7 separate regions of the Homo sapiens genome follow, and regions 2, 3, 4, 5, 6 and 7 are each linked to region 1. The links are contacts of gene promoters, found by promoter capture Hi-C in blood cells and fetal thymus (Javierre and others, 2016). All regions are on one chromosome and are shown on one strand. Each heading gives the region's core, a stretch centred on a gene start or on the middle of the fragment in contact. The rest is flanking DNA. Distances are from core to core; before and after follow the strand shown.

The links. The method cuts DNA at HindIII sites, captures the fragments that hold promoters and counts their contacts. A CHiCAGO score of 5 or more calls a contact.
Region 2: a contact is called between a fragment that was not itself captured here and the fragment with the promoter of CHD1 in region 1, in 8 of 17 cell types (fetal thymus, non-activated CD4 T cells, total B cells and 5 more). The highest score is 16.4, in fetal thymus.
Region 3: a fragment that was not itself captured here is called in contact with the fragment with the promoter of CHD1 in region 1 in 13 of 17 cell types (non-activated CD4 T cells, total B cells, total CD8 T cells and 10 more); the score reaches 44.2 in non-activated CD4 T cells.
Region 4: a fragment that was not itself captured here is called in contact with the fragment with the promoter of CHD1 in region 1 in 3 of 17 cell types (erythroblasts, total CD4 T cells and total CD8 T cells); the score reaches 6.2 in erythroblasts.
Region 5: a contact is called between a fragment that was not itself captured here and the fragment with the promoter of CHD1 in region 1, in 2 of 17 cell types (total CD8 T cells and neutrophils). The highest score is 5.7, in total CD8 T cells.
Region 6: a contact is called between a fragment that was not itself captured here and the fragment with the promoter of CHD1 in region 1, in 1 of 17 cell types (activated CD4 T cells). The highest score is 5.5, in activated CD4 T cells.
Region 7: a contact is called between a fragment that was not itself captured here and the fragment with the promoter of CHD1 in region 1, in 4 of 17 cell types (total CD4 T cells, total CD8 T cells, non-activated CD4 T cells and 1 more). The highest score is 11.0, in total CD4 T cells.

What each region holds. Positions count from the first base shown.
Region 1 is chr5:98,927,304-98,930,888 of GRCh38, reverse strand. It overlaps CHD1 (chromodomain helicase DNA binding protein 1), which reads left to right and starts at 1,882. Exons shown (of 36, transcript NM_001270.4): 1 at 1,882-2,350. It overlaps CHD1-DT (CHD1 divergent transcript), which reads right to left and starts at 2,327. Exons shown (of 4, transcript NR_151718.1): 1 at 2,247-2,327. It overlaps LOC100289230 (a long non-coding RNA gene), which reads right to left and starts at 1,755. Exons shown (of 1, transcript NR_036530.1): 1 at 1-1,755. RefSeq lists enhancers at 1,149-1,478, 967-1,865 and silencers at 1,639-1,848, 2,109-2,738. The HindIII fragment of the contact is 7,543 bases long and covers 208-3,585 here.
Region 2 is chr5:103,137,439-103,141,023 of GRCh38, reverse strand. It overlaps PPIP5K2 (diphosphoinositol pentakisphosphate kinase 2), which reads right to left. Exons shown (of 31, transcript NM_001276277.3): 5 at 2,555-2,640. Among named protein-coding and RNA genes, the nearest start is that of PPIP5K2, 19 kb to the right of the region's middle. The HindIII fragment of the contact is 1,046 bases long and covers 1,486-2,531 here.
Region 3 is chr5:103,117,388-103,120,972 of GRCh38, reverse strand. It overlaps GIN1 (gypsy retrotransposon integrase 1), which reads left to right and starts at 835. Exons shown (of 8, transcript NM_017676.2): 1 at 835-909. It overlaps PPIP5K2 (diphosphoinositol pentakisphosphate kinase 2), which reads right to left and starts at 672. Exons shown (of 31, transcript NM_001276277.3): 1 at 485-672. RefSeq lists enhancers at 272-331, 382-571, 602-861, 697-1,197, 1,198-1,699. The HindIII fragment of the contact is 679 bases long and covers 1,241-1,919 here.
Region 4 is chr5:103,098,790-103,102,374 of GRCh38, reverse strand. All of the region lies in intron 4 of GIN1 (gypsy retrotransposon integrase 1), which reads left to right. Among named protein-coding and RNA genes, the nearest start is that of GIN1, 20 kb to the left of the region's middle. The HindIII fragment of the contact is 2,224 bases long and covers 555-2,778 here.
Region 5 is chr5:102,794,250-102,797,834 of GRCh38, reverse strand. All of the region lies in intron 1 of PAM (peptidylglycine alpha-amidating monooxygenase), which reads right to left. Among named protein-coding and RNA genes, the nearest start is that of PAM, 41 kb to the right of the region's middle. The HindIII fragment of the contact is 8,006 bases long and covers 1-3,585 here.
Region 6 is chr5:102,777,026-102,780,610 of GRCh38, reverse strand. All of the region lies in intron 1 of PAM (peptidylglycine alpha-amidating monooxygenase), which reads right to left. Among named protein-coding and RNA genes, the nearest start is that of PAM, 24 kb to the right of the region's middle. The HindIII fragment of the contact is 634 bases long and covers 1,224-1,857 here.
Region 7 is chr5:102,758,578-102,762,162 of GRCh38, reverse strand. All of the region lies in intron 1 of PAM (peptidylglycine alpha-amidating monooxygenase), which reads right to left. Among named protein-coding and RNA genes, the nearest start is that of PAM, 5.1 kb to the right of the region's middle. RefSeq lists an enhancer at 1-74. The HindIII fragment of the contact is 746 bases long and covers 1,500-2,245 here.

The DNA of each region.
Region 1 (3,585 bases), core at 633-3,132:
TGCCTGACGTGCTTCCGGAAAACGTAAAATAGACTGTATATACAGTAATTCTTTTCATAAGACAATGACAAAATGTCAGAGTTGTAATTGAGGACTTTATTAACTGAACTATACTTCTGATTACAACATTCTGTGTATGTTAATAGTTTCTCTGGAGAAATTACGGGCACAGGAAGTTCCTCTCATTAAGGATATTAACATAAAGCTTAATATGAAAAATTAGCACTCAGTTCAGAAATGACGACTTCAGAAATGACTTCAGAAATGACGATTTGTATGATCTTTTCATTCCTCACAACCCAGTATTAAAACTATCTAATATTGCAAAGGATGGTAGTGTTCCACTTCGTTTTGCTATTCAATTATTGCTGATAGATACATGTTTTCAAAAAGGCCATTGGCATCTGTTTGCTTTCTCCTACTTCTCCAAGTGAATACACCCTTCAATATGTAGTAAATACATATGTGGAGTTATGTTTTGAGATTTTTTTGAAGGATTTGAACCAAACTGTTTAAACAGCTGGTAGCCTAAAACTGGAATATTTCCCACAAGGGAAAAATAATTATTTGGGGAATGTATGTTACCACAAACTCATCTGACTTGGAAAGTGCGCCTTTACACCAAATCAAATAACTGAACAATGGGATTAGAAACTTTTAATTATTATTAACCTCGGCCACCGGGCGCCGTGGCTCACGCCTGTAATTCCAGCACTTTGGAAGGCAGTGGCAGGTGGATCGCTCGAGCTCAGGAGTTCAACACCAACCTAGCAACATGACAAAACCCCGCCTCTACAAACATAAATAAAAAACAAAAATCATTAACCTTGAGTGAGTCAAGTTCATCTGCAGACTGAAAAAAATAAAGTGTAACAGAATTTTGATTTAAAAAACGCTTTCAAAAAAGCATTTCAAAATGCTCTAAGTATGTTTCAAAAATACACTTAAAAATATGTTTCCAACACACTGAAGGGATTTAACTAAGATCCACAATTACAGTTACGATACAAACTGTAAGCTAAAAGGCAGCAACTTAAGCTGAGACAGTTACTAACATCCCTCGAGCAGCGTTTTTTGTTGCGATTCGGCGCCGCACCCGTCACCCCGCCCTCCGGGGAGGAACCTAGAAAGGAAGGGTGGTACATTTCTAAACCAGGCCACCCACACATGAATCAAGCGGCATCACAGGCTGTCAACAACCGGGTCTCTATTTTCTCTCCTCCTCCGGCGCCCCGCCCGTGCGGGACATCAGCTCCCAGGATGCGTCAATCGCAGATCGCCCAAGCGTAAGAGGTGGCGAGAGGCCACCACGGTTGCCCAACAGTTGCGTTCCCAGGCTGCCTGGTGTGACGCAGCAGCCCCCGCCCGGACCCTGAGGCCTGGCGCTCCGACTGAGCCGAGGCCTGTGCTACCCGACACTCCTTGCGACCCGGCCCCTTAGGCTTATTCAGCGCGGCCCTTCCCGGCTTCCCGAGTCCCATCGCAGTCTCTCCCCACCCCCGTTCCTCCCCGGTTCCTTGTCAGTGTCCGCCGCGATGTCCTTGCGCAACCATCCCAAGTGACATTAGCGCCCATACCCGCACGGAGCGAGCCTGAAGCTCCCACTTCCCGGAATTCAACGCCGGGCCGCTAAGGGCGGGCACCCAAGCGAGGATCAGCGGACTAAGGCCGCGACCAGAGTCCAGCGGTCTCCGCGCAGTCAGAGTCCGACAGCCTCTGCGCATCCGCCGTGCGCACTCCCATTCGTGCGCGTGCGCGCACTCGCCCCCCCCGCCCCGCCCCAGCACCAATCGCTTTTTTCCTACGCCCACGACCCTTCAACGTAGTCCCTCCCGCCTCCCGCGCGCGAGCAGAAAGGCTTCGGCGTGCGCGCGCCCGCCCGCCTCGCGCTCTGTCGGGAAGGGGAGTGAGCAGAGGCGCTTACGTCGCGCGGGAGGCGGAGGCGACGGCGACCTCGGTGGCGGCGGCGGCTACGACGGAGACGGTTGCGCTCGCTTGCTTTCTCGGCGTCATGGCGGCTGCCGGGGGCAGATAAGCGGAGGGAGCGGGAGCGCGCGCGCGACGGCGGCGGCGGCGGCGGCGACGACTGGTTACTTATAGCTCTTGCTGCCCTCGCCCTTGGTGCTTCAATAATGAATTGTTAGCTCCACTCCGCAGGGGATCGCGCGTTGGTGCTGCGGACCGGGGCTTCCCCTTCCCCTCCGCGTCTGTCCCCTTCCCCCTCCCCCGCACGGACTCTTGCTTACCCCGAGACGCCGGAGCCCTAGGACTGGGCGGCGGAGATCCCGGGCCTGGGCGCGGGGGAGGCCGTCCACCCGAGTCGGCTCCCTCCGCCCCGCCAAGCCCGCCGGTAAGAAAGGGGGCGGCGGGCGGGTCAGGATGTGGCGGAGAGGACAGGAACCGGCCGGGCGGAGGGCGGGCGCGGCGCGGTGCCCAGGCGGCGGCCCAGCGGCCGGGTGAAGGCCGGGTGGCTCTGTGAGTGCCGGTGGCGGTGTACGGGCCTGGCGCGCAGGGGGCGTGTGAGCGGCGAGTACAGGCCGGGGCCGCAGAACGCATCCTTGCGCCGGCCCGGCGGCCCTGCCCCGGCCTCTTCGGCTTGGTGCCGACCGGGCCGCGAGAGGAGACCCGCGAATGGCTAGCACTTAGCCGGTGCGTGGGTCCTGCCGCGACCCGGGCTCCCAGCACGTGGGGAGCGGCGGGAGGGGGAGGGGGCGGCGGCTCGGGCGAGCCTGGGAGGGCGCGGGGCGGGTCTGCGGGAAGTTTGAGGCGGGAAGAGGGACTCCTGGACCGGGATGGAGGCCCTGGGAGAGGGGGGCAGGTCCGCGAGGGAGGCTGATTGGAGCGCGCTGGATGGATGAGTGAGGATGGTTTCCAAACCTCTTTCGAGTGCCGCTTTAAAAACTTAGCAGGAGCAAAGCAACTGCTAAAAGACAGAGGATTGAAGAGGTTTAATAACTTAGGGTAGTCATTGTGGAGACGCTTGAGAGGACACAGCGCTGTGTGCGCTTGGAGCTTCAGAACTCAGGGTTGTGAAAAGGGTCTCAGAGGACTTATTCGGATAAGGGAGATGGAGGGGAAAGGAAGTTAAAATGTACAGAGAAAGCCATTTTGAGGGACGAAAGGAAGGTGAAAAGGAAAGAACGAAAAGGGGAGTGAACTTTTTAAAGGAAGAAACGGGAAAGGCAGTTTGTTAACATACTTAGATTTTTTAAGACTTAATTGTTCAGTAAGGCACTTTGACTAGGGTTGAGATTAATATTTAACATTAGGAATAAATGTTGAGTAGAACGGTTACTTTTTAGATAACCTGTTCTTGCAGAGTCTACTGGACAGTAGTCTAGAGAATTAACATCCTGATCCAGATGCAGACTTTGCTATCATTGAGTTGGTAACAATCTGTTTCCCTCCCTCTCTTGTGGAATGGAAATAATCGTAGGAGTGAATTCTCTTTGCTGAGGTCGGAGGACAGCTCTGCTCTCAGTTGGCTGTCTCGGTACTTTCTGGCTGGGGAAGGATCTGACGTCTCCTTCCCCCGCTTCTTCCTCTCCCTCCCCTGCCAGAGATCTCCTTTGTTTATTCGTGGAT
Region 2 (3,585 bases), core at 759-3,258, 4.2 Mb before region 1:
TTCTATCAGATTGATGAACTCCTTTTAGCATTTCCTGTAAAAGATCTGTAAGATCTTTTTCCTATCCTGTCCTATAAGGACAGAAAAATTCCATGATACTGGTAATTCATGAATCCCTCAGTTTCTGTTTAGTAAAGTATATTATGTCTTCATGTTTGAAGGATAATTTTTTTTTTTTTTTTTTTTTGAGACGGAGTCTCGTTCTGTCGCCCAGGCGGGAGTGCTGTGGCGCGATCTCCGCTCACTGCAAGCTCCGCCTTCCGGGTTCACGCCATTCTCCTGCCTCAGCCTCCCGAGTAGCTGGGACTACAGGCGCCCGCCACTGCGCCCGGCTAATTTTTTGTATTTTTAGTAGAGACGGGGTTTCACCGTGGTCTCGATCTCCTGACCTCGTGATCCGCCCGCCTCGGCCTCCCAAAGTGCTGGGATTACAGGCGTGAGCCACCGCGCCCGGCCTGAAGGATAATTTTGCTGAATAGAATATTCTAGGTTGGAAGTTTTGTTTTTCCTTCAACACTTTGAATGCCATCACACTCTCTCCTAGCCTATAAGCTTTCTGCTTAGATGTCAGCTGCCAGTTGTATCAGAGCTTCTTTACATGTTATATACATCTATTCTCTGGGTGCTTTAAGGATCTTTGTTTATCCTTGACCTTTGAGAGTTTAATTAATATATGCCTTGAGATAGTCTTATTTGGGTTAAATCTTCATATTCTTCTATGACCTATGCATATTCGTATCTTTCTTTAGGTTTGGAAAGTTCTGTTATTGCTTATTTCAATAAACTTTCTACCATGATCTATGTTCTCTTTAAGAGCACTAATTCTTGGATTTGTCCCTTTGAGGCTATTTTTAAGATTTTTTTTTTTTTTTTTAACATTTTCCCTTCCCCTTATTAACTACGTAGGTCCCAAAGTTCTTAAAGAAAAACGAAGAAAGGAGTGGGCTAAAAAGATGAAAAGTGCTACCTGGGAAGTTTGTTCAAGCTCCTCTCTCAGGTCTCTTTAGTCCTGTAAGTGTGTTTCATTCTTTTCCTCTCTTTCTCCTCTGGCTATGGATTTTCACATAGCCAGTTTTCAAGCTCACTAATTCTTCTACTTGATCCACTTTGCTGTTGAGAGGCTTTGATATATATTTCAGTTTGTCAACTGAATTTTTCAGTTCCAGAATTTTGGCTTGTTTTGAATTATTTCAATCTCCTTGTTAATTTCTCATGATACAATTCTGATTCCTTCTCCATGTTACACTGAAGTTCTTGAGCTTCCTCAGGACAGCTATTTTGAATTCTCTGTCTGAAAGGTCACATATCTCCATCACTCCAGGATTGGTAACTGGTACCTTATTTAGTTTGTTTGGTGAGGTCACATTTTTCTGGATGTTCTTGATGCTTGTAGACATTCACTGATGTCTGGGTATTTACAAGTTAGGTATTTATTTCAGTCTTCACCGTTTGGGCTTGTTTGTATCCATCCTTCTTGAGAAAGCTTTCCACATATTCAAAAAAGACTAAGTGTTATGATCTAAGCCTGAGGTCACTGCAGCTGTATTAGCACTAGGGGGCGCCCTAAGTCCAGGAATGCTACAAACTCTTGCTGACTCCTAGAGGCACCACCTTGGTGGACTAATTTTTTGGTTCTTATGAAGGTGCATTCTTGCATGGCTAGTTTATAATTTGGTGTTCCTGTGGGGAGTGGGACAATCACTGGAGGGTATATTTGGCCATCTTGTTCTGCCTCCCCCCTAGTTTTTAATAAAAGATGGTTTAAGGTATGATAAATTCATCAAAATTCCCCACAATACTAAGTGTGAACAGAAATGTTAACTCAAGACAAACACGTATTTTGCCTTGTGACTAAGTTAGGTATAGCTTCCATGCTATGTTTTAGATAACCAGAAAAAAAGGAGCAAACAGTGCTTTAAAATATTAATAAATACTTAGAAGTACTGTTGCCCCTTGTCATACGCGGTGACTGGTTCCAGGAACCCCCTCGTATACCAAAATCTTCACATACTCAAGTCCCACAGTTGGCTCTGCAGAATCCATGTAAATGAAAAGTTGGCTATCAGTATATGTGGGACCCACGAATTCCGTATTTTCAATTCATGTTTATTCCATGAATAAGCAGACCAGCACAGTTCAAACACATGCTGTTCCAGGGCCAACTGTATTTCCAAATTCTTGGCCAGTATTTAGTTTTTGGCATTGTAGCATGAAGTTTCTAATACTTAATTCAATAGTCATAGATAAATCACTTGTTCACCTTTAATCAATACACATTTACTTGTATGTAATTTCAAAATTCTAACTCATGATTCTTAGAGATATGTCAAAAGTAGGCCAAAGAAGAGAAGGATAAATAATTCCTAAATTATTAGGTAGCCTTTTAACTCAGTGTCACCTTTTAATTGAATATGTTTGTCTGTTTAGATTATTTTTTAAAATGGAATAGAATACTATGAATTCTTTAAATTCCTTCCAGTTAATTATTGTAAGAATGTGGCCCAAAAGTATGTCAAGTGGCAAAGGAAGCTTACCTAAAATCTCTTACTCTTACCTTTGGGATTATTTGGGTCACGGTTCAAAATAGCATAACGAGGAAGTAAAATACCTTCAGCTTGAAGAATACTATATACTTCTCTCCTGAAGAAAAAGGGAAACATCCTTATTGTTTTATTGCTCCATTTCACAATGAATATATTATTGTAGTTTTCTTAAAAGACATTATTGTTGTTCTATAACTAAAAAGGGTATATATCTCAACACTTTTTATTTTTTAAATAAACAAATGTCACTTCGAATATTCAAAAAAGGTATTCTGAGGAAATATTCAGCAATAAGAACACAAATTTATGCACAATTCTTTTCTAGCTTATTGAGAAACTAATTATTAAAACTGAGAACATAAATGTATTTTAAAAATGGCTGAATAAAGTTGATATTATCACAATGATAGAACATTACCTAAGCATTAAAAGCCTTATGCTTAAATAGTATTTAATGACATGGAGAAATGTTCACAGCATACTAGAGAAAAGTGATTCTAATTTGGTAAAATGTGATTGTTATGTATGTATTGTTTTCTATAGGAAAAAAATATGATAGATACAGTGACGATTAAATGGCTTTCGGTACGCTTTTACTTTTCAAACCATTTAAAACGAACATACATTTCTATAGCTATAGCTGTATATATAAAAACACATATATATGAATTAATATGTAAATGTAGAGAAAATGTTTTAAATTTTAGATATTAATAATGTTACTCTCTGGAAGAATAGAAAAAAATAAAGTGAAAAAACCATAAGGTCTCATATTTACAAAGCATTTTTCATACACATAAAATCTCATATTGTAATGGTAAAACAAGAAAATAGAATGCTGGTGAGATTATGAGAATAGCTATAGGAGTGAAACATTGATTGAATGAAATACATAAATACACTCATATTTTATAATTTATTAGAAATCCATGCTTTTTACCTGTTAAATGAATGCTAAGATATACAGTATAATATTTTTCAAAATAGGTATACTTTACCATTTAAAAAATCTAGTTATAGGCCGGGTGCGGTGGCTCACACC
Region 3 (3,585 bases), core at 331-2,830, 4.2 Mb before region 1:
CCCTGCAGCCTCGGTCCCTACTATGAAAAGCTGCAACACATGAGGCTTTTGTTATTTTAAAGTGGGTGTGGGGTTGACAGAGAGAGGGATAAAGACTAAGGCAGAAAATTTTTTAAAAAGCCACCTCTACCCACAGCAGTCCCATAACTCGAGGCTAATCACTTCAGTGGAGCCAGGCACAGCGTGGGGTAGAAGCTCAGCGGTTCCCTTTTAGCTGATCTTCAATTTCTGGCGTCTCGAACCCAAGAAATGAAAAAGGGAAGCCATGGGGGAGCAGGAGGAGAAATCAAGGCGCGAAAGGACCCTCAAAGCTGTACTGTCACTCCACGCCCAGGCTGTCATTCTCTCCAGCACAAGCCCCTCGGTGGAGCATGTGTTTAGGGTCTGCAGAGCACAGGAGACAAAGCAGAAGCCCAGCAGCCGCCTCAACCCTGGCATGATCAGGTTCCGCATCTCCGGTTCTCCTCCGGTTTTGGGCCCTCACCTGCCACGAATGCGGTCGTCACGCGAGCAGTTGTGAGATGGTCAAGCCCATTCAGGTCTAGGTTACCCCCTTTCATCCCGGAGGCAGGGGTGAGGTGTTTGTCAAGAGACTTCAGTTGTAGGCGTGGACGTAGGCTACTTCCTTCAGTAACAGCTATAGGGCCACATAAGGGAACCTCAGGCTACTACACCTCAGGAATCTCCGTCACGCCTCTTCCCCGCCCTCCTCGGGTCTCACGCCGAAACCTCACCGGGCGGAACGATTTCCGGCAAGAGCCAAATGATCAGTCCTAACCTTTCTGACCGTGGTTCCAAGGTTCCCCAAAGGACTGCCCTCTAAAGGACCCGGGTAGTTCCGCTTCCGGCAGCGCGAGATAAATCACGAGAGGAAGCTTAAATCTGTCGTTTGAATTTAGGACCACCTCGGTGAGTGGTCGTTCTGGTGTGCTGTGTCATACCTACTGTTTTTTAAAGTGAGGCGTAACCCGACAGTAATTTCAAAACCATTCGCCTCGACCGGCCTAAGGAAGGGTTTAATTGAGTCTGTGGGGAGATTTTGCGCAAGCGCCTTTGAGATAGGAGGGCCTTGGGCGTTGCGATGTCCCGCGCTAGCTGAGCAGAAAGGGCGAGTGCTGTTTCGGGCCTGGGGAGGTGCCTACTGGGTGTAATTGAGTTTTACCAAACGGTCATTTTCCTGCTGATTCTGAGTGTGGTTGGACCTTGCCCTTAAGATTCCGTTAACGAGTCGCCCAAAGCTTAGGAAATGCTCCCTCACAGCGTTTGAGACTAAGCACTTTTGGCCGGCGTTGAAGAATTCTCCCCATTACTTTGATCAGTCATTTAATCAGAAATTTTGCCCCAAATTTAAATACGTGGCGGGGAGAAACGTGAGGTCAAGAGGGAATCCTGTCACGTAGTTTTAAAAGAAAAATGTCCACTTTATCTCAGTGTAGGTTTTTCTTAAATGGGCATTTCTGAACCAAAGTAGATACTTTTTAAAGTGGAAATGCATTTATCCCATGTGGCTTCATGTGAATGCATATGGCGATGAAGGCATTTTTTTGTTCAATGAATTTGTACTCTGAAGTGAACCAGATTACAGAGAAGTGTATTTAAATTTACAGGTCCTTGACGTTGCATAAAATTGTGCGTGTCCATTTTTTGGAGCTTAAAATAGAATAATTCAAATGTCAGAATTCCGATCCAAGTTAACATGTTGATTGAAAATTGCAGATTTTAAGATGGAACCAGCGGGTATTATAACCTTTTAGGGGCTTAAATTGGTGGCTTTGTTTTTAACCCTTGGTGAAACAGTTAAGTCCTAATCTTGACATAATACCTAACTGCCTTACTTTATTGAACACAAAATTATTAAAGGAATTAAGCAATGAGTTGATTTTATTTGCTTTTATGGAGGGGACAAAGTGTATAAAGCTTAACCAAATGTGACCCTGACATTCCTCTTGCAAAACTACAAGTTGTAATCAATCACTTTCATTTTTTCTTATTCCTACATGTTTAAGTACATTAAGTAATGATTTTAAGAGAAATTCTTGAAAATATGAGCATATCCAAAGAAGTCCCAGGACAGTCTTTCTTTATGTAGTAGAAACCACTTAATCCCCCTTGTAAATGATACCTTTACTTAGCAATCAGAGTATAAGAAGATATTTATATTTGTCTCGAATATTACAGTTTCAAGCCATTTTCTCATATGTATGGGCTTTGAAAAAAAAAAAACAACTTTCATTTACGTTACTTTTGTATATGAATACCAATTATTAGCAGTAAAACTTTTAACTACTTCAAAGGCTATGCTTTTCGTGAACTGAGTTTTCTTTCTTACGCATTTTCTATTTCTCCTTGTCATCTGTCTCTCTACCTCCAGAACCAGCAGTTTGTGAACTGCATTAGACTGTTATATCGTTATAAAAGGATACAATTCGTGAGTCTTCTGATTATTTTCTTCTTAGCACTGAAGCTTTATAAACATTGCTATAAAACATTAACACCATTAATGAAAGGAAAGAGATTTTAAAATATTTTTTCATGTAGGTGAAGATTTTGGGAAAAGAAAGGGTTTTATGTTACTTTAAACAGCCTGATATGGATGATAATACTTAGATATGATAATAATTATACATTACCATATACAAAGGACTTTTAATCATCCTCGTAATTGCAAAAAAGGGATAGATATTATGTCCTTTTCCAAACATAGATACTAAGGCTTAAGTCTATACCTTCTTAGACACAGTTTACTTATAGTGCCATGTATGTGAAAGTGAACTGTAATGTTTTCAAAAGTGAAATAATTTACCTCTGGAATATTTGCTATAATTTTTAATTCTCCTTTCAGGAAATGCAGGTAATTCTTTATTCATTCACAAATAGTTGAGTGTCCACTGTGTTCTGAACATTATGTTAAACAATGTAAACATAAAAAATTAATAAACTCTTTCCATTCCTCATTTATAATCTAAATTATTGATTACAAAAATCACTTTATAATTTGTGTAACAGAGGCCTGAACCAAGTATTATAAAAGCTAAGGATAACAAGTAATTGACTTACTGGTATAGCAGGGGGGAAAAGCGTGAAATTTGAAGTAAGAGACACCAAGTTAAAAGTGTCAGCGCATGTACTCACTTTATTACCTTGAGTAAATTGGACAATCTCTGAACCTCCATTTTCCTACCTGTAAAATGGATATAAAACTAATACCTACTTCATGAAGTACTGTGAGGATTATCATAGTAAAATACTGCATAACTATTTGCAGCTGTAGTCGTGAGTCACTTAGCAATGGAATAAATTCTGAGAAATGCTTTGTTAGGCAGTTTCAGCATTGCACGAATACAGACTCTACCTACATGAACCTAGATGATATGTGTGTGTGTGTGTGTGTATATTTTTTTCTTCATATAGAGAACCAAATGTCCCTGCACATTATTGGGTATCATTTATTTCTCCTACTTGATCTGCAGTGCTAATATCAAATGACCTATATCAGGTTCTATATATGCTCTGCTATCATCTTACGGGACCAATAGGCAGTCCATCCTTGACCAAAACATTCTTATGCAGTGCAATTGCGTTGGC
Region 4 (3,585 bases), core at 417-2,916, 4.2 Mb before region 1:
CATGGTGTCAAACAGATGTTAAGGGGGCAACTTGGCACAAAGTTTGGTAACAATGGTTTAAATGATAAAGCTAGTGTCACAAATGTGTCTAGTAGAGGAGGATCATGTAATTAATTAACAGGTAACAATTTGCTAATTGTTTAAAATTATATCTGTAATATGATTTTAGAATCCAATACCAAAAGTATTTTCAGGTAAATTAAAAGAATTTTAATTTTTAAAGTAGAAACAGAAAAAAATATATTTGACATTTAATCTCTAGAAATGGAGGTCACATTCTAAACCTAGGAATAGTGGTATAAACTTCAATGGAAAAACATTAAATTTGGCTGCATAATAATAGGAGATTTATGTGGTAAAGTAATCAACATATAAAAGCCAATCTTGCAAATAAAGCAAGATAATTTTGTAAATGAAGGCAAGGTAGTCTTGCCTGCCTTGATTGACATAGCAGTGGTCTGAGCAATGGAGTACGTAAAGGCCATCCAGTTTGGGGGAAGGCTATTGGAACTTCTATTTATATTTTTTAAATCCCAAAAATAAGAAATGAAGCTTTATTAATAATGTATACGATTGATAATAGCATTCTGACTCAATCAACAAGACATGTATGTCACACATGCTATGTGAAGGTATCCTGAAAGAAAAGTGAGAATCCACATGTTTCCTCACCCATACTTTTGCTTTCAGCAGTTGAATGAAAGTATGGATATCATCTAGCATTCACCACACTACTCACAAAATGGCCAGGGAGCTTAGATTTTTGCAGTGAAAGCAGATAATACTAAAAGGCAAACACCCATCATCAACCACAAGAAAGTGATAGCGCCGGCACGTCTATTTAACTTCCAGCTCTTTGTTAGACACATCAATGAGATGAATACAAATATTAACTACAATAGTCCCCATTTATCTGCAGTTTTACTTTCTGAGGTTTCAGTTCCTATAGTCAACTGCAGTCCAAACATATTAAATACAAAATTTCAGAAATAAATGATTTAAAAGTTTTTTAATTGCACACCATTCTGCGTATAGTGATAAAATCTCATGCTGTCCTGCTCTGTCCAACTGGGACGTGAATCATCTCTTTGTCTAGCATATCTTCATTGTATATGCTACTCTCTCCCCATCATTAGTCACTTCATAGCTGTCTTGGTTATCAGATCAAATGTAGTGGTTAGTAGTGTGTATCCAAGTTACCCTTATTTTATTTAAGAATGCCCCCAAAGTGCAAGAGTAGTGATGTTGGCATATTGTTAATCGTCCTATTTTATTTTTAGTTGTTAACCTCTTACTGTGCCTAATTTAAAAATTAATCTCTATCATAGGTATGTATGTATAGGGGAAAACATAGTATAAATAGGGTTAGGTACTACCTGCAGTATCAAACATTCACTAGGGGCCTTGAAACATATTCTCTGAAGGTAAAGGGAGACTATAGTTATCAGATCTGATAGGAAATTAGGCATCAAAATTCAAAATTATCAAGAATACTCTTTGAAATATCAGTTCACTTCCACTTTTATTGATGGAGAGCCTTACCCTAAGTGCATATAATGTTTCAAGGTATTTGCTAATGATAATATGAAGCCATTATGATTAGCTAGCAGTTTTTCCAGTCGTGTTTAAAGTCATTTGATAACCAAACCAGGACTTTGAAAATTTTTCTAAAGGTAACAATAGGGCCAAGCATGGTGGCTCATACCTCAGCTTTTTGGGAGGCTGAGGTGAGAGGATAACTTGAGACCAGGAGTTCAAGACCAGCCCATGCAATACAACAAGACTCCGTCTCTACAAAAAAAAAAAAAATTTTTAATTAACTGGACGTGGTGTTGCACACTCATAGTCCCAGCAACTCAGGAGGCTAACGTGTAAGGATTGCTTAAGCCCAGGAGGTGAAGGCTGTAGTGAGCTATGGTTGCACCACTGCATTCCAGTTTGGGCAACAGTGAGACCCTGTCTCAAAAAAATAATAATAATAATAATAATAGGCTGTGCTCAGTGGCTCATGCCTGTTGTAATCCTACCAGCCAGATTGCTTGAGCCTAGGAGATCGAGACTAGCCTAAGCAACATGGTGAAATGCCATCTCTACAAAAAATGCAACAATTAGCCAGGAGTGGTAGGGCACACCTGTAGTCCAGCTACTTGGGAGGCTGAGATGGGAAGATCGCTTGAGCCCAGGAGGTTGAGATTGCAGTGAGCCAAGATCATGCACTCTAGCCTGGGTAACAGACTGAGACCCTGTCTCAAAAAAAAAAAATAAAAAATAAAGGGTAACAATAAATATTTGCAGGCCTATTTTGTGAGATTGCTTAAACAAAAAACCAAAAAAGCGACATATGATTGGGAAAACTTGTTCTTTTTGCTGTGATTAAAATGGCTTCACTATTACACAGAAAGCATAACGATGACAGTACAAAATGAACTCTTTTGTCAGCAAATACTGATGCAGAAAACACTGCTAAATATTATAACATAATACACAATGTGGGAGGTTTATTGTATAGTTGAATAAAAATACAGATGTTTCTAATGGCTTAGCTTAGAGTATTTGCTAAATTGTTCCAATAAAATGCACAAAGAACTTTTTGTAAACCTCTGAAGGAAAGAGAACAAACATATTCAGTAGGAAAATTAATTTTTTTAAATGTCTTACAGAAAACTAAAATTGTAAGAACTGACGGAATATCTGGTTTGATGGTTGGGGGGCTGACAGAGTAAGGATGTCAAGATACCATTTCACAAATGGATTCCCTGGATCATTCCTAGGCAAGCTTTTGAAACAAAGAAGTTAAAGCCTTTTTCAAGGGTCATTTCAAACCATTAATCAAGACTCAGATTGAAGCTGACCCAAATGACACCTATTCTTTGGGATTTCTTTCTAATTTTGAATTAAAAATAGTCACCCTGAATTAGTATGTATATCAGCTAGGAAGTGTATTCAATCCAAGTAACAGACTTCCTTTCCCTATCTCAATATATTAATATATATTGTATATATATTATCCCAATATATATTGGGAGTGATTGAGAGTCACTCCTATTGTATTCACAACGTGGCTGCTGGAGCACATGCCACAATGCCTACATTTCAGTCAGAAAGAAGGGAGAGAGTGTTGGGCAAACAAAGCTAGTACCAGCTGAGTTTGCCTAACAACTTTTACTTACAACTTTTTGGCTAGAATTATGTCACATGACCACCCCTACCTGCAAGGGAGTTTGGGAAATGTAGTTTTCTTTTTATTGCTTTCCCCTCTTGTATTAACTTTGCCTATTTAGTTATTCTGATACTACTCGTCTGAAATATTCTTTTTTAAAAAGACAAATTTATGAGCCAAAGGTTTACTCAACTAAAAATAATAAGGAAAAAAAAAGTCTGAAAGGTGAGGTAGGAAAAAAATATTATTTTATATTTAATGGGTTTACTGTTAAAAGTTTTGTAAACTCATTTTAAGTGCTACACATAATATAGTAACACCAATAATAGTAGTTATAAGTTAAAAGTTATAAAATGCTTATTGCCAATAACTGTTTTACATGCTTTTTAAACATTAACTTATGACCTAGTGGGTTGTTTTTGAGA
Region 5 (3,585 bases), core at 391-2,890, 3.9 Mb before region 1:
GGCCTAAGCATACAGGAAAGGTGGAAGGCTAATACCATGTACTTTATATGGCTTCTAACATGTAAATACATTTGACCTGATACTATTTTAAAAAAATGTTTGTATTTAGCAATCTGATTATACTTAAATATTCTTAAAACCTAAATGCTGGAACATTGCCAATTTTCTCTTCTCTTTCCTACCAAAATGACATATCTCTATCAATAATTCTTTGGAAAAATATTCAAGGCACTCTCAGAAAAATTATTGTGCTTCATTATGCAAAATGGAAATGCAGCTTTAAAAAATATTCTGCCTGACATTCAGTTCTGTATACTGCTACAGCAGGTCGAAAGCCATTAGCCACCTGCTGAAAACACATACTAGGAAACAAAATGTCCTTCAAAATCATTTTGCATAAGGTATTCTCTAAGCAAAAGGGTGAGGTTATATTCTAAATGTTTATGAATGTGATGGCTCAGAAATACACTCACCATGACATATTAATTTTAAAATAATATTTAATAATGATCTTATGATTTAGAGCATTCACATTGGATTTTTAAAAGCACCATGTCTATTATGAGAGAAATGAAAGTTACAGAAGATACATAAAATAACCAGTTCCATGGCTGTTGTTGTCTCCTTTTCCAATAAAAATAAGAGACTCATTATTATTCCTGGGATTCTTAGGACAATCTCTTTTATGCCAGTAGTCTTCTGAAGAATGACCCAACAGTCCTTTGGTATGTTAAAGATATTCTTTAAGTCTGTTTTTTACAGAAGAAGCAAAACACCAGCCCTTGTGCTGTTGCACATTCAAAATAATTCACAATTCATTTTTGTTTAGCATTTTGAAACTTGGCAATGAAGCATATGGCTCTCTATCATTATTCTATTATTAGGTTCCATTAGCAATAATTAGATAAATGGTCATTTAGCACTTTGTACAACCAGGTACTGAGTTAAGTGTTAGACACACCTTAATGCATTCAATCCATGTAACGACTTTATGACACAGGTAATATCTATTACCATTTTACAAATAAGAAAACCAAGGCACAAAGAGGTTAAGCAGCTTGCTCATAGTTACACAGATAGCAGATGACTATTTCAAAAAGGGAAATTTATAGCTTCCCTCATGTAAGATGAGGGAATGTGAGCTTCTGAATGTGATGAGCAAACGAAAGAAAATGAAGGAGGCAAAGTACAAAGAGAGTTGAATGAAAGGACTGAATTGAAAGAAATGCTTTCTCTTTCACAATTTTCTCTAATCTTATTTGGCTGACTGTGGTGCTCAAAAAAATGACAATAAACAGGTAAGAGAATTATAATCTTACCAAGAGCAAAGATGACTCCTACCAGACTCCTACCAGACACTAGGAAGATCAATTTTTCTTGCCTTATTTAAAAGGTGAATTTCCACTGTGTGGAACTGCAAATATCCAATCTCATTGCCCAAACTCTGGGATGACATCTGGGAAATAAATAAACATTTTGGTACCATGTCAGATTCCCTGGTTGCAGAGGCACAGATCGATCTATGAGTCCTAGACTATTGACCGACAAACCTGGTTCCTAACATGGATTGCAGGTGACCTTTGGAGACTGACTTCATGAAGGGCCCATGGAGCTCACAGACTATTAGCTACAGAGGGTCCAACTCCACTGGTGTTGCCCTCATTAACTTGAACAAATAAAAACTTGTTTGTACAGATCTCAAATTACCTCCTGTTACAAATGTCCAGTGCCTCTTCCAAGGGCCCAGATCCAAAAATCTGTCAACAGATCACAGGAGTTTTTGCTGAGGCTGGTGCATATTCTGATTTGTTTGGATCATTTAGAAGCCTTTAAACAAAATATCACAGGCCTCTAAATCTTCAAGTATAAACTAAAAAAAATAACTCATGGTTAATAAACTATGAACTCCAACAAAATGTGTCTGACAAAATGGAAATTGTAAAACATTTCAGGAAAAAATGCACTAAACTCTCTGATAATGAGGTTGGAAAAGATTCCCTTTTCCGCACCCAAAACAAAGGAATGAAAATCCCTGCTTTAAGTGAAGAGAGTTGCCATTTATTTTATGGCTGAAGACCAAATTATACATATTTTTGTGACTTTCCGTTAGGGATCAAGGTCAATCACCAGATTTTTCTCTCACACCAACCACACGGCAGCAGCACAAATACGTATGTTCCTCATCCCTTTCACTGTGAATTTTTAATTTTGGTTTTCCCTCTCAGAGCAGCTAAGATTTCTTCATTTGTCAAAAGGGTAGCCATTAAGAAAGTCATTTAGTTAATAAACAAGGAAATTAGCTAGCCTGATACAAAACAGATAGTAACAACACTAACAGCAATCTGTACACGCAAATTAAAGCAGCGAGAGTTGCTCTGATAAGCACTTTTAAACTGTTAGTGGTACTCCAAAAACGGCATCACCAGTATTAGAGGTTAGACAGCAGTTTAAAACATTTCTTCCTGTCTCATTTGGTTCCTGCAAAAATCTCAATAGTAATTTTTGAGTTTTACCTAAGGATGTGCAGAGAAAGACATCAGTAGAAAGAGGAAACAAGAAGTATCAAAGTAGGATAACTCATCTCCCATTCCAAGCACTTTTCTTTTTCTTTTTCTTCTCTTCTTTTTTTTTTTTTTTTTTTTTTTGAGACATTGTCTCACTTTGTCACCCTGGCTGGAGTGCAGTGGTGCCATCATGACTCACTATGGCCTCAACCTCCCGGGTTCAAGTGATTCTCCTGCCTCAGCCCCACAAGTAGCTGGGACTAACAGAGCCCACCACCACTCCCAGCTAATTTTTTTATTTTTTGTAGAGATGGGGTTTCCCTATGTTGACCAGGCTGGTCTCCAACTCCTGGGCACAAGTGATCTGCGAGCCTCAGCCTGCCAGAGTGCTAGGATTACAGGTGTGAGCCACCGCACCTGGCCCCAAGCATTTTCCTGCATCTTCTTTTGTTACTCTTTGGAGCAACCAGCTAATGCTTGTTTAAGTTTGAGGAAAGCCAAATAACCTAAGTAAACAACACAATGGACACAGGACTTGTAAATCTCATGAAAGACAATGCCAGATTTTAAAGTACATAGTCATCAAACAAAAAAATTAGCATCAGAATGTTCATAGCCACATGTAAATGTTCTATATTTTTTAAGCTGATAATCTCTATTTAATTTGTACATGTAATAATTTTTTGGTGGTGGAATCAGCATAAATATAAATATCACTGTTTCATATTGAATCAAACTATCTTCAGTTTTCTACAAAAAAAATAAATCTTTTTTTTCACCTAACCTTCCTTGGTACAAAAATTAAATCTTTCTTAATATAGAATAGGAAGAATCTGCTAATTCAATAATACTAATTTCTTTTTTGCTGATTAAAAAAGGAATGAAAAAAATCTCCTCATCTAGTCACTTCCTATAAAATGCTTGAAATGCTTTGTTCACCATTGGCTTTAATAATTCCTTCCTTCAGTTGGTGGAAAATGTATCTGAATCAGTAAGAATCTACTTCTGCCAATTCCTTTCAGGAAGACAACCTTCCACCTACTGAAATCACACCTCCACTCCAGGCTGTAGCCATTCCCAG
Region 6 (3,585 bases), core at 291-2,790, 3.9 Mb before region 1:
GGAGTTCAGTCGGGAGGTACACCATGCAATGTGCACGACCTTTTTTTAATGAAGTACGGCACCACATCCTACTTAACTCTCAAATGTCCTACAAATCACATAGGTAATAAATGTCTTTATGATGAGCTAAGCTTACGACCCAAATCCATTTTACATAAAAACACAAGTATTTTTTACATGGTTTAAAACCCCTTATGTTTAGAAATGAAGTTACTACATGAATCAAGAAAGACAATATTTAGTTTTATTTGAAATTTTGCCAAGAATTGCTCATCATTTTGGAAAAATCACATCACCAACAACAATGCCAATGGTGGTACAGTAGTCTTCCCTGATCCTCGGGGCATATCTTCCAACACTCCCAGTAAATGCTTAAAACTGTGGATAGTGCTGAATCCTATATATGCTATGTTCTTTTAAAATTTGATAACCCAGATGGCTAACAGGTGAGGTGGGTAGCATATGTAATGTGGATACAGTGGACAAAGAAATAATTCACATCCTGGGTTGGATGGAGCAGGGGGCACACGTTTTCATCATGCTATTCAGAATGGTGTACAATTAAAAACTTATAAATTATTTGTTTCTGGAACTCTCCAAATTTTTGGACCATAGTTGACCAAGGGTAACTATATTAGGATTCCCTGGAGGGTCAGAACTATTAGGAGATATATACATATATATATGTGTGTATATATATATATATATATATATATATATATATGTATATGGGAGTTTATTAAGTATTAACTTACATGATCACAAGGTCCCACAATAGGCCGTCTGCAGGCGAGGAGCATTGAGAGCCAGTCCAAGTCTCAAAACTGAAGAACTTGGAGTCTGATGTTTGAGGGCAGGAAACATCCAGCATCCAGCATGGGAGAAAAATGTAGGCTGGGAGGTTAGGCCAGTCTCACCTCTTCACATTTTTCTGCCTGCTTTATATTCACTGGCCGCTGATTAGATTGTGCCCACCAGATTAAGGGTGGGTCTGCCTTCCCCAGCCCACTGACTCAAATGTTAATCTCCTTTGGCAACACCCTCACAGGAACAATACTTTGCATCCTTCAGTTCAATCAGGTTGACACACGTATTAACCATCACAGTAAATGAAACCACAGATAAGGGGGGGAATACTTTATCTGAGTGGTCAATATAACAAAGACATCAATCTGCATTTGTAGCTGTCACACATACTGTTATTCTACATATAGGATCAAGCTTTTGAACACTTCATTAGGTCTTATGGTGTAATCATAACTAAACATTTACATATTGAATGAAATACACATTATCTTATTATAAATTACTTATTCCTGTATTGCTCTTTTATATTAAAGTTAGGAATTATATATATACATATATATATATACACATATATATACACACACATATATATGCATATTTTTGAATTACACACTTAGGCAGGTTATATTACACATAAATTTCATTTCTTGGTAATAAAGAGGGCACTGCAAAACATATGCTATGAAAAAGGAGACACTGGATCCAATAGGGTTGAGAATCTTTGTATTATAAAGTACCTCACTCAATTCCTTCACTTTGCAGAAGACAAGTTAGAGGCACAGAGAGAAGCCCATCAGGTTTTCTGACGGCAAATCCAAGGAGTTTTCCACAACAGATAATTCTATTCTATTCTGATCTTATATTCATACTATTAGTAGATCTCTGAGAATTAAGGACTGCCTGATTCAAATGCACACAAAGTATTCCCTCCAAAAACACAAACGGGTAAACCTGACCTGTATAGCATCTACATATAAAATATTACCATGGGAACCACGACAACTACAAACTGAGAAAACTGTCATCACCAACCCACCAGAAAACTAAGCTTCGTTCATTTGGTTGCTTGTCTATGCAATCTTCCATGTAAAAATGAAGTGAATGAAAATAAAAATGACTCATTTCAGAGGTTTCTAATTTGGTAAGATTTAATCACCACAGCTCTCAAGTTTCCTCTGGAACAAAATGCCACAGACCAGGCTTTGGAAGGAAAACAATAATAATAATCTACTTGAGCAGTCCCATGATTCATTTTATCCATCATATGGGGTCTAGTTTTTATTTCATTCTAAATGCCAGGGAGACCAAATGCCAGTTTTGATTATTCTGAATCCTTAATATGATTTTTGGTAATGTTACAGTCTCCTTCCTGAAACCTTAATTTTTCCTCTTGTTTACTTGTCAGGTAAACATTAATTGAATGCTCCTTGTCTAAAATACTATATAGAATGCTCTGGGCAATTTTAAAGTAAAGACAAACTGTTTGCCTTTGACAATGTTACCATCTTATGGGGAAGATAGAACGAATATAAACATATAAATACAAGTATAGGGCAAAATCAAGGACCATGCAGAAGTGCAAATGCAAGTATTACAGGGGAACACAAATCAACTCTTCAAAAAAATACATGTGGGGAGGTGAGAGGAGAAAGGCAACTCACCCGCCTCCTTTTTAATTCTCTATGGTGCAGGCTTTCTCCTTTAATTTTTTTTCTGTCTAACAGGGGTCCAAGAGGTGCTTACTTGATCTCTAGCAGGCTAACCCCAAGACGGCACAATGCCATTCAGGTGTTTTCCACAATTCCGCCTGCAGAAGGAATGATCGCAGGTCTCTCAAGGGCAAACCGAAATTTGGCAGGTGACCTTTCATTTACAGCATCACAGAAGAAAAATACATAGAACCACCCCATGTTAATCGCTAATCTAGCAAACCAACTTTCTCTCTTTTTATAATCCGTAAAAACAGAAAACAATAGCTTAAATGACCTCTGCTTTGTAGGGAAAATTAAAAAGGGCTTAAGCCAATATGCTGTCTATTTCTGGGGGGAAATAAAATACCTCTACAGAGGAAAACAGGCCCGGGAATGAATGGTGACATTCCATGTTCCTCACATATTCAAGTATAAATCACTTACCTCTTAGCTGAAGGGCTGTTTTCTTATCGTGAATTTTACCTACAGATTCCTTCTGGGAAGAAAGGGCCTCGTTTGGGCTAATTTTTAAATTCTCTAGTAGAATCCCTCTCTCAGACAATTAGGTCTTTTTTTTCCAGAAACTCCCACTTAAATACTTGATTTTACTAGAAATTTTATTCATTTAACTAATATTTATAGAGCACCTGGTATGTCCCAGGAAACTGTTGTGAAAATCCCAACCTAAGGAGCTTCAATTCTAGTGGGAACAGATAATAGGGCTGGGGGAGTAAATTATATGTTAGATAATAACAAGGTTTATGGGGAAAAAGGAGAGCAGGGCAAAACAATCAAGTAGTAGAAGTGAATGTTTGCAATTTTAAACAGCATAGTCAAGGCAGATCTCAATGAGTAACAATGAGATTTGAACAGTCTTCAGTTCCTAAAAAAACTCCCCTTTCTCTCTAGATTATATCCATTCATAATGTTGCTTCACTTTTTCCATATTTATATTACCCATTTTTATTGCTACATGGTGATTTTGAAAAAGATCCATTTCAAGTAAGATAAAGTCCCATGTTTAGAAAACTGCCCTACAATACAAATATCCCTGAATTCCAGTATTAAGTAGTTAAGAATAAAAAGG
Region 7 (3,585 bases), core at 623-3,122, 3.8 Mb before region 1:
AGGGCTGAGGAAGGGGAATTTGGGGGAGATAACCAGAGTTTTCTACCCCTACAAAAATAAGATTTCAAAACTCACAATTAAAAGAAAAAGACATTTAACAAAGTAACGTTTTTAAACTAAATGGGGAAAAATCTCACTAGTTAACAAATGCCTGCTTTATGCAAGGGACTCTACCTTTATACAAACCCTAATAGCATATGACCTCGGCTCTCCCAGAATTCACTGAATTTGAAAGGAATGTCTATGAAAATAAGGATTTGTTGATGTAATTAGTAATGTAAATAACAGGTATACATATAACCTACAAAAAGTTTTCTTTAAACACTATAGAAGCCTCCAGTTACATGCAACAATTATCATGCTATTCAAAATTAACTAATATCTTCATAAAAGTTCCCTTCAAAAGAGTTCTAAAAGATAACATAAGTGCTTAAAAATAATAAATTCTATCTTTAAAATATTCTAAACTTCAGACTTTTAAAAGCTTGAATTAATCTTTATATAAGTAAAATGTTACTGCACTACAAATGAGTACTATTTTAAAACAAACTTACTTTGGCATAAATAAGTGAAATTCTCAAGATATGAAATTTATAAGGCATTTTTAGCCACGGAAAAAGCAGGTAGTAGTATGATTCTTCCATAAGGGCCTCAGACTTTACTTTTATTTATTTCTACCACTGTTTTTGTTTTGCTTATGTTGTACATGCAGCAGTGAACTGTACACTCAATGCAGGTAAAAACCGTCCTTTGTTACTGCAACTGTTGGCTGGACCTATTATTCTTTGTGCATTTGCTTCCCAGTACTTGTGGCCCACACTCTCTACAAAATGAGCTTCTCCTATCTGATAGGGAAGCAGATCTGCTGCTTTGATTGTTTCCTTAATTCTGCGGTGTCATTTAAAGTTGTACTTTAAAGTATTATGTTTTATATTTTTTGAGTCCAGTTCCCTCCTTTCTTGAAGCTACCCTCTTAAACTCCCTGAACAAGAGCCATCTGGAAATCTTGTTCCTGTCCTCCATCCTTTCTGTGAGACCACACCAGCACAGCTGGGTTGCAGCAGGCACTGCCGAGGTGCTGCTGGACTGGCTATGCTCCAGACCCTCACTGTTAACATGCAATTCTTGTCCTTTTGTGTTAAGCATGGTTAGTAGACAAAGCTCAAGACAGTGTTCAGCAGTTCAATCTCCTTTGGGCACAGATCCTAATCTCACAATCACACATGATTTGAGTAACGCTGTTTATATGTAGAACTTCTGTTGCTACATGGTCCCAGTCTGCCCAGTCTCCAAATTGACAGTGTAGATACTTTTCCACTTTTCTTTTCCCCAAGAGGCCTGAACTAAGTACTGTATAGGTTATCCAAACAGAAATATTTTCTTTGTATTAAAGGGACTCCTGTGAATCTAACATGAAGTCAAACATCATTTTTATGCTGTCGAAATCAACAACTTCTACTGTCTCTACTCACTCACCAACACAAACAAAATTTGAAGCTTTAAACCAGCAATGTCCAATAAAACTATCTGCAATGATGGAAATTTTCTATATCTTCTCTGCCCAGTACAGTATCCACTAGCCTTGTATGGCTATTAAGCATTTGAAATGTGGCTACTGCAACTGAGGAATGGATTTTTAAAATCGTATTCCATTTTTAATTAATTTATACTTAAATTTAAACAGACAATGTGGCTAGTGGCTATCAATAATTAAGGGTCTGAGATTTTTATCCTACTTGCAGGCTAACGAAATCAGGGTGCCACAGTTTCATGGGGATGCTGGAAGAAGACAGAAAATTCTAGGGTGAGAAACAAAGGACTATACTACTCACAAAAATATCAGTAGCAGTAGTATCAGCATAGTTGTGCCAATGTCCTGAAACTCAGTTCCCCCCATGTGATGTGAAGCAGATACTTGATGATCTGCATTGTCAGAGGGGAACCCTGAGCTTAGGGTACTTGAATCTTTTAAACTGGACAGTAAAACCTACCTGCCCTTTGCTTCAGAGGGAAAGAATACCTCTATCTTCCAAAACTATCTACCATACAAATGTCTTTAAGAGAGTCTGGGATGAAAGCAGTAAATGCCTTTGCTCACAAGACATGCAAAAGTCTGAGTGACTAATGGAGAATTGAATCCCAACATAGGGGTATCATACATATCTCTGAAATCCACTCATCTCCCACCTGCTTGAATACCTTGCTTTTAGCCACACTTAATTTCTTCCTATGACCACGGTAAGCTTCCAAATGGTTATCTTTCTTCCACCACTGCCTCCTCCCACTCATTCTCTATACAGTAGCTAGACTGCATCTTGTAACACAAATCTCATCTTGTTTCAGTCTTCAATGTCACCCACTGTCCTTAGAATTAGGCCACCCCTCCTTAGCAAGTTCCACAAAGCCAGTGCTTCCCTTGCTTGTCCGTTTAAGGTTTATGCCTTTAGCCACATTAAACTCCTCTCAGTTTCTTACATGTAGAGGTCATAAAGTGGTGGCCCTAGGTTGAATTCCAACTACAGATTTGTCTGGTTTGGCCCACAGAATAGTTTTTAAAACATTTGGGTTAGTTCATATTTGGGAGATTTCATATTTATAAAATATGAATTTTAAGCTCCTCTTTAGAAATCAAGGCATCTGGCAACACTTGGCCTGCATCCCAACCTGACAATACTTGGCTGAAATGAGTATCTACTTTTCCCTTTAGACAGCTTGGATTCTCCAGATTGCCACGCCTCTCCCTCCTGCTCTTACCTATGTATTGTTTAACATTTTCTGCCTGACTTCCATTCTAAGGCATCATGCTCCCTTTGGTCTCTTTCAATCTTCCCACCTCTTCAGCTGCTAACTACCACTCATGCTTCAGGTCTTCATGTATTCATGCTGCTAGGAAGTTTTCCTTCACCACCACCAACCCAATTAGGATGAGATGATGCACTGTGTGACATTCACCTACCCAGGACCCTGCTATCCTATCTTCTGAGGTTCTCTTCACTACCCTTATCATGGCATGAATCATATGGCATTATAATTTTTTAAAAATTTTCTTTATAAATTTATAATTCTCTGTTTACAGATCTGCATCCCTCTCTAGACCTTTCAGTCATAAGAAAGTGACTATAACTGTCTTGTATACCATTGTATGTCAGTGCCTAGGAAAAAGCCAAACGTTTAGTGTGGGCTGAATAAACACTTGTTGCATAAATGAATGAAAAAAGTTAGCTGAGGAATGGCTATTTCAAAATATTGGGGAAGAGTGTATTTATATTTTTATATATGTATTCATTTTTAAAATGTGGACCACTGAAATTCCATTCCTTCCCCCCTCCCCCTACCCTGGAGAAACTAAAATAACTACTTGAGTCATAGAGCAATAGCTGTATACTGGCAATGTGCTAAGAACCACACATGGATTAGCTCATTTAATGCTGACAACAGTCCTTTCAGGTTAGTATTTCATTATTCCCATTTTGGAGAGGTAAACATTCAACCCCAGATAAAATGAAGGCCTTATTCTCCACAACACAGTAAATTGTAGGGATACATGATGACTGAAATTTCTGCCAGGATACCTGAGAGCACATG